Linked DNA regions of Homo sapiens: all the other regions are linked to region 2. Evidence: promoter capture Hi-C in 16 types of primary human blood cells and fetal thymus (Javierre and others, 2016). All regions are on one chromosome and are shown on one strand. The core of a region is centred on a gene start or on the middle of the fragment in contact, and the rest is flanking DNA. Distances in the headings are between cores, read along the strand shown.

Region 1 (4,328 bases), core at 1,649-4,148, 310 kb after region 2:
CCTGAGGGACAGAGTGAGACTCCACCTCAAAAAATAAATAAATAAATAAATTGATGACATGTTGAAATAATATTTTGCATATATTGAGTTAGATATATAATTAAAATTAATTTCATCTATTTATTTTTTAACTTCTCAAAAATTTTTTTTATTTTAGAGACGCGGTGTGGACTGCCTCGAACTCCTGGACTCAAGTGATTCTTCCGCCTCAGCCCCCGGCCTAGCTGGGACTACAGGCGTGCACAACACAGCGCCTGGCTTTTTACTTTTTAAACGTGACGCCTAGAGAATTTAAGCAGGGGTGTCCAATCTTTTGGCTTCCCTGGGCCACACTGGAAGAACTGTCTTGGGTCACACATAAAATACTGATCATGATAGCTGATGAGCTAAAAAAAAAAAAAAAAAAAAAAAAAAAAGACAAAGAAAAAGGTCCGTGCATAAATCTCATGATGTTCTAGGAAAGTTTACGAATTTGTGTTGGGCCGCATTTAAAGCAGTCCTAGTCCGCATGCGGCCTGGGGGCCGCGGGTTGGACAAGCTTGATTTAGAGTTTTGTATGCGGCTTCCCTTATATTTCTATTAGCCAGGACTGGCACAACACAGGATCATCGCTACCATCCCACCTATACACAAAAAAAAAGGTTGGAAAAAAGAAAAACAGGTCCAAGAGTGGAGGTGGCACTTCCCTCTGCTCTACCCCCTACCCATCGCTGCTCTTCCTCCTTTTCCCAGTCACCCCTCATGTGCCAGGGTGGCTCCTGACCCAGTACAATTGCTCTCCTAGAGGTGACCAAAGACCTCTTGGGTGGCAAATGCGATCAGTGCTTTCCCCGCGGCCTGACCGTCCCCTTCTCATTCTACGGGGCTGCGTGCAGGCGCGGCCCGGTCGCCTCGGTCGCCCTGGCAACTGGCCGCTGCCGGCCCCCGCAGGCCTTGGCAAACACCCGCGAATGAACCGCCACGCACGCGAGGCCACTCCAGCCTCCGGGTCCGCACCATTCATTCGGCAGCTATTTCGGGAGGGCCTCCCGCGTGTCCCGAGTCCGGTGCCGGGAGCCCAGGCGTCACGCAGCGCGGCGGGAATGCGCCTCCGCACACTTAAATGCCGCCCGCGCCACCGCTCAGATTGCTGGTGACGAACGCTCCCGCGGCCGCGAGAATGGCTGACGGCTCCCCAGCCCAACCCCGCTGCGCGTCTGGCGGGCAGGCGTGGGGCTGACACGCAGCAGGCACCCCCTCGACTTCAACCCAACTGCAGGGCCCCGGGTCTCATAGCTGCCTGCGAGTGCCCCTCAGACCTGCGGCCCAGCCTGGTGTCCCCGGGTGGGCGGTTTCACACCCACCCGCTAAGTCCCCTCACGCGAGGCTGCAGCCGCCAAGCACGGGCGACAGGCGACGTGGCCGGCGGGACCCGAGAACGGCGCCTATGCCTGGCAGCTCCCTGCCCGCCCGCCTTCCTCCCTCGGGGTCTGGGTCTCGGGGGCTCACAACACTCGCGCGCGGCCGCCCTTACCGGGGCCGGGGCCGCCTCAGCCATGGCCCTGCGCTGTCTAGCCCGGGCCTCGGAAGTCGCCGCCGCTGCCGCCGCTGCCACCGCGCCCGGCTCCAAGCAGGCCCGGCCGCCGGGTCCTCTCCACAGGCGGCGCCGACCCGGCCCTGCCTTCCCCGCACGGACGGGACTCACGCGGCCGTCGGGGCTCGGGACGCGCAGGAACGCGGCGGAGGCGCGGTGCAGCAGGCGGCGGATCAAGCTGGGGTCGCGAGGCCGACTCCGCCGCACTCCACCCGCAGCGGCCCCTCAGCTGGCGCTTTGTGGGCAGCGAGTGCACCGGGAACCGCGCGGGCCTAGACGCGCCGCAGGCTCGCGCTGCCCAGCCACCGCGGCCAGCGCGCCCCCTGCCGGCCCCTGCGGCCAGCGCCCCCCGCGTCGCCTCCGCCCCTCCCCCCCAGCTCTTGGGCTTCGGTGTGGGGAGGGTTGTTATTTGGGGCCCACGTGTGTTCCGCTTTCTCACATTCCCACGAGAAGGTTCAGCTCACCGCAGTTTAGGACCCAGCCGCAAAGCCGGGCTCATTCTGGGGAGTGATTTTCTTCACGGAGGCTCGATACGCAGGCGCCGTCTGCAGGCAACAGCTTCTGCTGAAGGGCAGCCGTATTTAGAACAGCGGAAATGTGCAGGGTGAGAGTAAGGGGGACACGGCTGAAGGGAGCCTATGGGTGGAATGAGTGACGGAGAGGCACAATTTTGGAATGAAGAAGATATAGATCATTTGCGGAAATTACAAATGTGGTTGCCAAGGTGAGGCGGTTCAGGTCCCACGCGGCCTGTGTTGGGATCAATAATATTTTAAGGTCTCCTTCACATCTCGGATTATTGACTCTCCGGGGCCTGGTCTGGAAATAGGATTCTTAATTTTTGTTTATTTATTTATTTAGAGACGGAGTCTCACTCCGTCGCCCAGGCTGGAGTGCAGTGGCGGGATCTCGGCTCACTGCAACCGCCTTCCGGGTTCAACCGATTCTCCTGCCTTTGCCTCCCAAGTAGCTGGGATTACAGGCATGTACCACCATGCCCAGCTAATTTTTTTTTTTTTAAGTGGAGACGGGGTTTCACCATGTTGGCCAGGCTGGTCTGAAACTCCTGACCTCAAATGATCCACCCGCCTTGGCCTCCCAAAGTGCTAGGATTACAAGCGTGAGCCATTGCGCCCGGCCTTATTTATTGATTTATTTAGAGACAGTCTCCCTCTGTCGTCCAGGCTGGAGTGCAAGTGGCACAAACAAGGCTCACTGCAGCCTTAAACTGCTGGGCTCAAACGATCCTTCCCCTCAGCCTGCCCGAGCATCTTGGACTACAGGCGCAGCTACCAAGCCCGGCTAATGTTTTATTTATTTGTATTTATTTATTTACTTATTTATTTTTCTGTAGAGACAGGGTCTCGCTATGTTGCCCAAGCTGGAGGAAGTGGAATTCCTGAGAGCAGCAGAGATCGAGCTTGGGGTTACGGTTTGCTGCGTCTGAGCAAAAGGACCTGCGAGAACAGGCCGAGCGCAGTGGCTCACGCCTGTAATTCCAGCACTTTGGGAGGCCGAGGCGGGCAGATCACCTGAGTTCCAGACCAGCCTGGCCAACATGGTGAAACCCCGTCTCTACTAAAAAATACAAAAATTAGCCGGGCGTGGTGTCGTGCACCTGATATTCCAGCTGCTCCGGAGGCTGAGGCAAGAGAATCGCTGGAACCCAGGAGGCGGAGGTTGCAGTGAGCAGAGATGGCAGCACTGCACTCCACCCTGGGCGACAGAGCTAGACTCCATCTTAAAAAAAAAAAAAAAAAAAAAGGACCTGCGAGAACAAAGTGTTTTCTGGTGAGGTTGTGTTTTAAGTCAACAGAGTGTGTGTAACAGCAGTAGGTTCCTTGCCCAATGCACATAGCAAGTCTATATGCAGAGACACCAGGTTGCAGCAGAGAAAGAGGTCTAATCATAGGGCCACCTAAGGAGGAGACAGGAAGAAGCCTCACATCCATCTCTGCTAGGAATTTGGGAATTTGGGGTTAGAGTTTGTAAGGGTAATGGAGTTGACTGATTGGTGGGAGAGTGCTGGTGAAATCGTGGTACAAGGAGATGAAGAAACTACATTCTCATGCTCATCCCATTCCTCTGTGGGGGGTCTTCAAACTGGTTGAACTCAACTGTTTCACCGGAACTCGTGGTCTGAAAAACATCTTAAGCGATCCTTAAACAAAAGCCTTATGATTCTAATGTCAGAGATCCTGTCTACAGGAACAACAGGGATGCAAATCAATTCTTAGTCTGATGTCTGAAATCCTATCTATAGGAACAATAGAGATGCAAATGTCAGTATCTAGTGCCTTGTGACTATTAGCAACAAGGAAGTAGGCCGAAGTGCAGCCTGATTAATGCTTAATTATAACTATATTTCTGTCCAGAACCTGCATGCAATTTTTGTGAACCCTGTTGGGGCGGTTTCATGTGTGTGGTGATAGGATAAGCACATGACCCTGGTTTTCCAGGAAGTCTTCATTTCAAACATGTATGAATCAAACCCTGCTAAACCTGTATTTCAACACATGAATCAAGTCAATGCCCATAACAGTATAACTATCTGTAAATCACAAAAGTATGAGAACTATCCTGTTGGGGCAACTGCTCTTGAGCAGACTAAGTTACTTTTCGCCTGTGGCTACATATGCAGTCCGTAATTTGGGATTTACCTGAATATACATATTTGTCAGATGGTGAATGCTTAATAATGAAAATTGCCATTCTCTGACTCACAATATGAGTAGATTACAAAAAAATAATAATC
Region 2 (4,647 bases), core at 1,210-3,709:
CCTCCACCTCCCAGGTTCAAGCAATTCTCCTGCCTCAGCCTCCAGAGTAGCTGGGACTACAGGCGCCCGCCACCATGCCCAGCTAGTTTTTGTATTTTTAGTAGAGATGGGGTTTCACCATGTTGGCCAGGCTGGTCTCGAACTCCTGACCTCAGGTGATCCACCTGCCTCGGCCTCCCAAAGTGCTAGGATTACAGGCATGAGCCACCATGCCCGACTGAAATGTTTTATATCTTGATGGCAGGTATGGAGTACTTAAGTCTTTGCATTTGTCAAAGCTAGAAAAGCCATAAACTTGAAATCTGTGCATTACACTGCATATAAATAATACTTTAAATAATTTTAATGTTTGTGCAACACTTACCATGAAACATGTTAAAAGACAGGCTGGGAGAAGATATTTGCCATCTGCCCATCTAACAAGGTATTGTGGAGATTATATACATAAACATAAAATGTATGCTAACAACAGTATAAAAGATGGTAGGGATAACCTGTTGTAAGGTTATCACACCATATGTGAAGTGGCATAATTTATGTAGACTGTTAGAAAATTAAAGATGTATATTGTAAAACTGAGGACAACCATTTAAAATTATATGTAACTAGTAAGAGAATGGTGAAAAATAGAAATTACTAAGAAATAGAATACTAATATAAAAATAGAATTAAAAAAAAAAACCTCAACCTCAAAGCAGGCAGTTGGGGAGAGAGAGAGAGAGAGAGAGAGGTATCACTGAACACCTGGAACACACAGAAAATAACTAGTAAGATGGTAGATTTAAATGCAATCGTATTAGTAATCACATTAAATGTTTGGTGATATGATTAAGATCCAGAATAGATTTTTAATGAAATACCTATAAGCCAATAAGAAAAAGATCTCACAACAGAAACATTGGCAAATGATATGAAGAGGAAATTCACAGAGGAAGAAACCAAATGTCAGTAAACATGAAAAGATGTCCAACTTCATTAATCAGGGAAATACAAATACAAATTAAAATAATGAGCTACCATTTCACAGTCATCATGTCGGCAAACGTTCTGAGTCCATTATCAGTAAGTATGAGCCAGGATGGGGAAAGAGAAAATCACACGATAGTGGGTGTGTAAGTAGGCACCATCCCTTCAGTGAGCAGTTCGGGAAGCCGGGGAAAGATGAAGGTGCTCTTGCCATCCAGAGTCCCATGTCTAGGCGTCTCTAGAGACGCACTTTAGCAGTGCACAATGAGACATGCATGCAGATGTCGCTGGCAGCAGGTTTGTTCTCATTCCTCTAGGGGGAATGGAACGTAAACTGTAGTTTATGTATTCAATGAAATACTATATTGTGGGTAAAATGAATGAACCAGATATTCTTGTTTAAACATGTCTGTATCTCAAAAACAAAATGACCCATGGAAAAAAGCAAGTTGCAACAGGATAGGGACTGGATAATATCATTCACATAAAATGTAAAAATACCAAAACCAGTAGTGTGCATTGTTTACGAATGCACACATGTTAGTTAATGCATAAAGACCTGGGTGAGAACTCTAGCCTCCGGGAAGGGAGGGGACAGGATGCATAGCTCTGGCCTTACCTCTATCTGTAACTTTCCTTTTTTTTGTTTTTTGAGACGGAGTCTTGATCTGTCCCCTAGGCTGGAGTGCAGTGGGGCGATCTCGGCTCACTGCAACCTCTGCCTCCCGGGTTCAAGAGATTCTCCTGCCTCAGCCTCCCAAGTAGCTGGGACTACAGGGCCGCGCCACCACGTCCAGCTAATTTTGGTATTTTTAGTAGAGACAGGGTTTCATCACGTTAGCCAGGTTGGTCTCGATCTCTTGACCTCGTGATCTGCCCACCTCAGCCTCCCAAAGTGCTGGGATTACAGGCATGAGCCACCACGTCTGGCCATAACTTTCCATTATCTGAGCTGCCAGCATACTGAGTCCTGTTGCCTTCCAAGACCAGCTCCACTCCTGGGGTTCCATTAGGTAAACACAATGTCCTCTGCTCCCCCCCGCCGTCTTCCCTCACTTAAGTTAGTTCCAGTTGGGCTTCATCGCTAGTAACCAGGACGCCTGCCTATAGTTTCTTCTTTTTTTTTCCTTTTCAATTCATCCCCAGTTCTCGCCACCTCGTAGGTATTCAATTAATACATGTTTAAGTGGACCTGTCCAGGAAGGGGAGTTCTCAACTCTAAGCTCCTGCATTTCTTTTGGGACTTCTCATGGTTACAAAGAGCATTCATTCATACTGTGACTGAGGGTAAACAAGTCGCTGCCCACTCGGCCTCAGTTTCCTCCTAAATGACCCGTCTGGCCACTTCCAGCCCCAGCAGGGTCTGATTCTAGGAATTCGGTCCTTTCATGTCGAAAACAACACTCGGGCATTTCACAAAAGCACCCAACCCCCTGGCTCCCCTTGGAAGCACAGCCCGCGTCCCTGGAACCCGGGCTGCACTGAGCTGGTCACATGAACTCCGGGCTTTCTCTGGTGTGACGGGTTTCTTAGATCCCTTTGTGAGCGCAGGTTTTGAAAGGGAACGACCCCGGGTTCTGGGTGTGAGAGGCGCAGGGGATCGGCGGGAGGAAGGCTGTCGGAGCCAATCAAGCCGCCTCCAGACCCCAGCACGTCGCCTGGGCTGCGCGCTCCGACTGCGCCTCCGCCCGCGCGCCTCCCGGCCTCGCCCGAGGGTGCCTGGGCAGGCGAGGACCCCAGGTGAGAGGCCGGAGGGTCCTGGAGGGTGGGAGGCCCCGGCGGTTCGGCCCGGGCTCCACGACGGGCTGGCCCGGGCTCAGGGCGTGTCCGTCGCCGCCGGGCGGCTCGCTCGACACTGTTCGCTCCTACCGGCTGTAGATGGAGCTGTCTGGGTTCCGGCAGCCTCCGACGAGCCTCGGAGTGTTTCTCTTTAAACGGCCTGAGAGGGACATGCCTCCCAGGATGCAGTTTGTAGCAACATGGCAGCTGCTGTGCAGCTCCCCTGCTAAAGAGGCGCCGGGACGGCAGCGCAGCTCGCAGCCGGGGCCGGGGCCGGAGCTGGGGTCCCAGCCGCGGCCGCAGAGGGGCGGCGCGCGGGCCGGGGGCCGCCGTTGAGGGCCGGGGCCCAGCTCGCCGCCGGGACGCAGCCGGCCGGGCCGCCCGCACAGCCGCGCGCCCAGCTCCGACGCCGCCGCTCGGGCTCCGCGACCCCGCGCCCGCTCGCCCCGCGCGCCCCGAGCAGGCCGGGGCCCGACGGCCGCGCGCGAGCCCCGGCGGGGAAGACAGGGCTGGGCCGGCGCCGCCTGCGGAGAGCGCCGGGCGGCCGGGCCTGCGTGGGGCCGCGCGCAGTAGCGGCGGCGGCAGTAGCGGCGGCGACTCCGGGGGCCCGGGCCGGACAGCGCAGGGCCATGGCCGAGGCGGCCCCGGCTCCTGTGAGGGCGGCCCGCGCGCGCACGGACGCGCGGCCTCGGGGCCCCGGGGACGGCCTGCGTGTCCCGGGCTCGGCGGCCCGGCCTGGGATCTCGGTAAGGGGCAGAAACGCTACGACGTTGGCGCGGGGGGTGGGGGCGCCCTGGAGGGGGCCCGCGCGTCTTGACCCGGGCGGTGGGGGAGGGCTACGGGCCTCGCCGCCGTCCGTGCGAGGGAGGCTGCTCTCACGCCCGGCCCGGCACACACGCGGCCCCGAGGTGGGGCGCCCGGAGGCGCGCTCGCTCCCTGCGGGGCCCGCGCTGCGTCCGTCGGGGTAGCCGCCGGCACGTTTTCCGCAGAGCTCGGCCCCGCGGAGCCTTCCCCGGCCCGGGCGCGGCGCTGACGCGGCTCTCCCATTTCGCAGAACGGAGACACTGAGGCACAGACACCTGGCGGCGACCCGCCCTGCCGGCCCCAAGGTCACGTAGCAAGGCATCCGTGGCACGGTGCGGCAGCCCCAGAAAGGCCTGCCCAGAGGGCTGCGGGCCTGGACGGGGAGGGGGTGGCTCTGGCGGCGGCCGCCCCTGGGTGAGGGGCTGGGCCGCCCTGGCAGCGGACGCGGCCCGTCGGGGGCGGCGGGGGAGGCCGGGCAGCGCCCAGCTGGGCATCTCCGCGGTGGGAGCAGGTGACCCTCTGAGCTCCAGCCTCTGCCTCCGGCCTCTGCGTCTGGAAGGTCGTAGGCTAAACTTTGAGTGCCCTGACAGATGGTGTCTGGGGAGTAAGCTTCTCAGGGGTTGGGGGCTGATGTTCCTCTTCAGGAAGACACTCTTAAAAAATCATCCCTCAGATCCTCCCGCAGACCTGCTCTTTGAGACGCCCTGGCCGTGCTAGTGAGAGGATTACTGCATGGGAGTCAGTGCCTTTGAGCCTCAGTTTCCTATTGTGTACACAGGAAGGAGGCAGGATATATAGCTTTCTAAAAAGCATCCCAATTCTTTAATCAAAAAAAAACTCATGAGAAAATAAAATCAAACGAAGATGTTTACATGCCTTACTCTGGGCTCAGGCCTTCGGGGCCCTTGAATGGTATATAATGCTGGGTGAACCATACTGGGTCATTCAAAAAAATGCCATGACTTTCTTAATAAGTCAGATACTGTGGTTATGGATGCTTCTGCTAATGTGGCATGAATCCTGGAGAATCCATCCACTCCTGATCCGTCGGGGAAGGAGGGACCGTTAAATCCTACAAATATGGTTCAGAAGAATTCT
Region 3 (4,650 bases), core at 1,026-3,525, 260 kb after region 2:
CCCTCTCTACTGGCTCCGTCCTTCAGGGTCATTCCAACCTCAGAAAAACCTTCCCTCAACACGCTGCTCCCTCAGGTCACTCTGCCCTCCCCATTCACTGGGAACATCCCAAGAGACACATTCTGTTTTTTCCTCTTCACCATCTATGCATTCTTTACCCCCTTAGATTCTGCCTCTGTACCTTCCATTCTCTGAAACCACACTCTGGAAGATCATCAGCGACCTTCTGTTGAAATCCTCAACAATTCTGACCTCTTCGAAAGGTCAAATCATCTTTCTAGAATTTTATCCTGCTTGGTTCCCGTAATTATGTTGCCTCCCGTCCATCTGGCACGTGTCTTTTTTACTTTTTCCTCTTCCTCCCCCAAGACCACGTGCCTCCCACCAACAGGTACGTGAGTGAGCCATGCCGGAATCAGGCCCTCCAGCCCCAGTCAAACCTTCAGATAACTGCTGCCCCATTCAACAGCTTGACTGTAACCTCATGGGACTCTGAGCCAGACCCACTCACCTAAGCTGCTCCCCAGTTCCTGACCCACAGAAATGGTGAGATGATAAATAATTATTTTTTAGGCTGGGCTGCTACATTTTGAGGTAATCTGTTATACAGCAATAGGTAACTAACACAATAATCTACATAGTGTCTTCCCACAAATAAAATTAATTAATCCTCACAACTCCATGAAGTAAGCATATTATCATCTTCGTTTTATTGATAATAACCCTGAAACTCAGAGAAACCAGCTGGGAATTTACTGAATTGTTTATACTTCACTTCCTTCAAAAGAGGAATTAAGGAGGCTCAGAAACAACAAAAAATACATTTGACCAATGATAGGAAAATCAGTACAAGCAGGCCTCATGCAGTGGCTCAAGCCTATAATCCCAGCACTTTGGGAAGCCAAGGCAGGAAGACTGCTTGAGCCCAGAAGTTCAAGACCAGCCTCGGCAACAAAGCAAGACCCTGTCACTACAAAGAATAAAAATAAATAAAAAACTTAACTGGGTGTGGTGGCATGTGCCTATAGTCCTAATTAATTGAGAGACTGAGGTGGAAGGATTGCTTGAGCCCAGGAGTTCAAAGCTGCATGAGCTATGATTGTATAACTGTACTCCAGCCTGGATGACAATGTGAGACCGTCCCAAAAAAACAAAAAACCAGTAAGTGGCAAAGTCAGGATTTAAACCCAAGTCCTCTGATTCCAGACCCCAAAACCATTTCATTATTCTGTAAGAGCCCTTGTCAAGTCAAGTCTCCTCTAATGCCTAATGCAGCGCACAGAACACGCCACAGTGCCACACAAGGATATGCGCTGAGACACACAGAACAGACAAAAGAAAAGGGCAGTGTGTACGTAAATGCTGATTGTGCTAGACAAGCGACATATGCAAAACCATACTAAAAACCAGCCTCTGTGGCTGCAGTGCCAGGAAATGTTTTGCTGAGGAACCAGAGCCACGATTACAACTCAGTTCTGTGAAGCCTCAATGAGTAACGTCAAACAACTCCTCTGGCAAAGTCATTGGGGTGGTTGCCTCAGCAGACACAGAGACACACAAGACCCAGTCCCTGCCAGGAAGCTGTTAGCTCTCCAGCTGGAGAGAGGCACTCCACAAACATTTTTTGCATACCAGTCTAAGCCAGGTACCATTCCAGGCACAGGGATGCAGCAGGCAACCAAGCAGAATTTACACTCTGGTTGGGGAAAACCAACCAAGAAGACAAAAAAAGCAATACAAAACTTAAGAATAATATCATAAGGCCAGGTGCAGTGGTTCACGCCTGTAATCCCAGCACTTTGGGAGGCTGAGGCGGATGGATCACTTGAGGTCAGGAGTTTGAGACCAGCCTGGACAACATGGTGAAACCCTGTCTCTACTAAAAAATACAAAAATTAGGCCAGGCGCGGTGGCTCACACCTGTAATCCCAGCACTCTGGGAAGCCAAGGCGGGCAGATCACGAGGTCAGGAGTTCGAAACCAGCCTGACCAACATAGTGAAACCCCGTCTCTACTAAAAAAAAATAGAAAAATTAGCCGGGCGTGGTGATGTGTGCCTGTAATCCCAGCTACTTGGGAGGCTGAGGCCGGAGAATGGTGTGAACCCGGGAGGCAGAGCTTACAGTGAGCCGAGTTCGCACCACTGCACTCCAGCTTGGGCAATAGAGCAAGACTCCGTCTCAAAAAAAAAAAAGAAAAATTAGCCGGGCATGGTGGCACATGCCTGTTATTCCAGCTACTCGGGAGGCTGAGGCAGGAGAATCGCTTGAACCTGGGAGGCAGAAGTTGCAGTGAGCCGAGATTGTACCACTGCCCTCCAGCCTGGGCAAGACTCTGTCTCAAAAAAAAAAAAAAAAAAAAGAAGCATATCTTAAATATTTAAGATGTCAATGGCAAAAGTGCTTTGTAGAAAATTCGAGTAAGGGCAGGGAGACGAGTGTGCTTGGGGGACGTGGTTCTTTCATATAGGATGGTTGTAGAAGGGCATGCTGATGAAGTGGCACCTCAGCAGACCCTGATGGAAGAGGTGGCGAGGACGGCCATGCAGATATTCAGGGCAGGAGCTTCTCAGTGGAGAGTCCCTGAGCTGGGGGCGCACGTGGTGTGCTGGCAGAACAGCACAGATGGGAGTGAGCAGGAGGGAGTGGATGCAGAGGAGGTCAGAGAGGCAGGGGAAGAGAGCGTGGGCCATAAACAGACATGGGCTTTTATTCTAATCAGATGGGAAGCCATTTGGGAGGTGTTTTTTGGGTTTTTTTTAAGACAGATTCTCACTCTGTCACCCAGGCTGGAGTGCAGTGGTAAGATCTCAGCTCACTGCAGCCTCTGCCTCCCAGGTTCAAGCAATTCTCCTGCCTCAGCCTCCTGAGTAGCTGGGATTACAGGTGCCTGCCACCATGCCCAGCTAATTTTTGTATTTTTAGTAGAGATGGGGTTTCACCATGTTGGCCAGGCTGGTCTTGAACTCCTGATCTCACATGACCCACCTGCCCGGCCTTCCAAAGTGCTGGGATTATGGGCGTGAGCCACCGTGCCCAGCCATTTGGGAGGTTTAAGCAGAGGTGTGATGTGACTGCTTCACATTTTCAAAGGATCACTCTGGCTGCTGTGTTGAGATAGACTGTATGGGTGGGGGGACAAGGATGAAGACAATGAGACCCACCAGGAGGCCATGGCAAAAATCAGATGAAAGACCATGGTGCCTGGGACCAGACGATGGCGATGGGAGTGGAGGTGGTGAGGAGTGGCCAGGTTGTGGATATATTCTGAAGAAAAATCAGGGTATTTACTAATAGATTGGAAGTAGGGTGTGAGAAAGAGAGGAGACAAGTATGACTCCAAGGCTTTGGCCTGAGCACTTGAAAGGATGGAACCATCCGTCATCAACGGAGATGAGGACAACTTCAGGTAGAACAGGTCTCAGGCAGGCGATCCGCAGTTCACTTTGGACATGTTAAATCTAAGATTTACTGACATCCAAATGAATTAATAGGTAGGAATGTGAATCTGGCATTCCAGAAAGAAAGCTGGGCAACATATAGAAAGGGAGCAGGGGAGAGAAAGCATCTATTTGGGAGGTGAGAGCATACAGATTGCTTTTAATAATGTGAGACTAGCTGGGCGTGGTGGCTCACGCCTGTAACCTCAGCACTTTGGGAGGCCCAGGCAGGTGGATCACCTGAGGTCAGGAGTTCGAGACCAGCCTGGCCAACATGGTGAAACCCCGTCTCCCCTAAAAATACAAAAAATTAGGTGGGCATGGTGGCAGATGCCTGTAATCCCACCTACTAGGGCAGCTGAGGCAGGAGAATCACTTGAACCCTGGAGGCAGAGGTTGCAGTGAGCCAAGATCACGTCACTGCACTCCAGTCTGGGCAACAGAGCGGGACTCTGTCTCAAAAAAAATAAATAAATAAATAAATAATAAAGACTGTGAGACGGGATGCAGTCATGAGGGAGGAGAGTAAATAAAGAGCAAAAGGCCAAGACAGAGGTCTGGCCCACTCCATGCATTAGAAAGCTGGCCAAAGGAGGCAAAATTGGCAAACAATGAGACACAGCAGCTGGTGAGGTAGGAAAAGACTCAGCAGAGAGAGGTGTCCCAGAAGCCACGGCAAGGGGTTTCACGGAGAGAGTGGTCACCTACACACAATGCTGCTGACAGGACAGGGAGGATGAAGACTGAGAAGCAACCACTGGCTGTAACACCACGGACATCATTAGTGAGCAAAGGCCTGATCAGAGTGCGTTCCAGAGAGAAAGATCCAGTTACCAATCAACTGGAATACTGAGAATAGAGGAACATGTTAAATGAGACCACAGGGGACGTAATCAGTGGAATCCAGACAGCGAGATGCAAAACAGGACAGGTGGCCCAATTCCTTCCAGATAAACTGAAAGGAAAAATAATAGATGGAAGAGATGCCCGCAGATTAAAAAAGACTTAAGAGACATCTCAAACATAATGTGTGGACATTACTTGAATCCTAATTCAAACTAAAAAAATGTTTTTAAAAATTGAAACAACTGAAAATCTAATCACTGGCTAGACAGTGATCTAGGCTGAAGCTTTTACTATGGTGGTGGTGGTAATAACATTGAGATTATCACTTAAAAAAAAAAGAGTCTTTACCTTTTGAGCTAATACTG

The links. The method cuts DNA at HindIII sites, captures the fragments that hold promoters and counts their contacts. A CHiCAGO score of 5 or more calls a contact.
Region 1: a fragment that was not itself captured here is called in contact with the fragment with the promoter of ZNF777 in region 2 in 9 of 17 cell types (naive CD8 T cells, total CD4 T cells, non-activated CD4 T cells and 6 more); the score reaches 7.2 in naive CD8 T cells.
Region 3: a contact is called between a fragment that was not itself captured here and the fragment with the promoter of ZNF777 in region 2, in 3 of 17 cell types (naive CD4 T cells, naive CD8 T cells and M2 macrophages). The highest score is 5.6, in naive CD4 T cells.

What each region holds. Positions count from the first base shown.
Region 1 is chr7:149,144,952-149,149,279 of GRCh38, reverse strand. It overlaps ZNF398 (zinc finger protein 398), which reads right to left and starts at 1,827. Exons shown (of 6, transcript NM_170686.3): 1 at 1,514-1,827. The coding sequence starts at 1,537. LOC107986856 (a long non-coding RNA gene) reads left to right here and starts at 1,919. Exons shown (of 2, transcript XR_007060581.1): 1 at 1,919-2,297; 2 at 2,928-4,328. RefSeq lists silencers at 913-962, 1,103-1,252, 1,547-1,718, 1,383-2,022 and enhancers at 1,328-1,901, 2,333-2,382, 2,476-3,049, 3,050-3,623, 3,624-4,197. The HindIII fragment of the contact is 4,715 bases long and covers 541-4,328 here.
Region 2 is chr7:149,458,874-149,463,520 of GRCh38, reverse strand. ZNF777 (zinc finger protein 777) reads left to right here and starts at 2,459. Exons shown (of 6, transcript NM_015694.3): 1 at 2,459-2,706. RefSeq lists silencers at 2,479-2,818, 2,989-3,058, 3,349-3,428, 3,439-3,798. The HindIII fragment of the contact is 6,109 bases long and covers 1-4,160 here.
Region 3 is chr7:149,199,862-149,204,511 of GRCh38, reverse strand. The region is part of intron 2 of ZNF282 (zinc finger protein 282); the gene reads right to left. Among named protein-coding and RNA genes, the nearest start is that of ZNF282, 6.6 kb to the right of the region's middle. RefSeq lists an enhancer at 1,039-1,539. The HindIII fragment of the contact is 4,592 bases long and covers 1-4,571 here.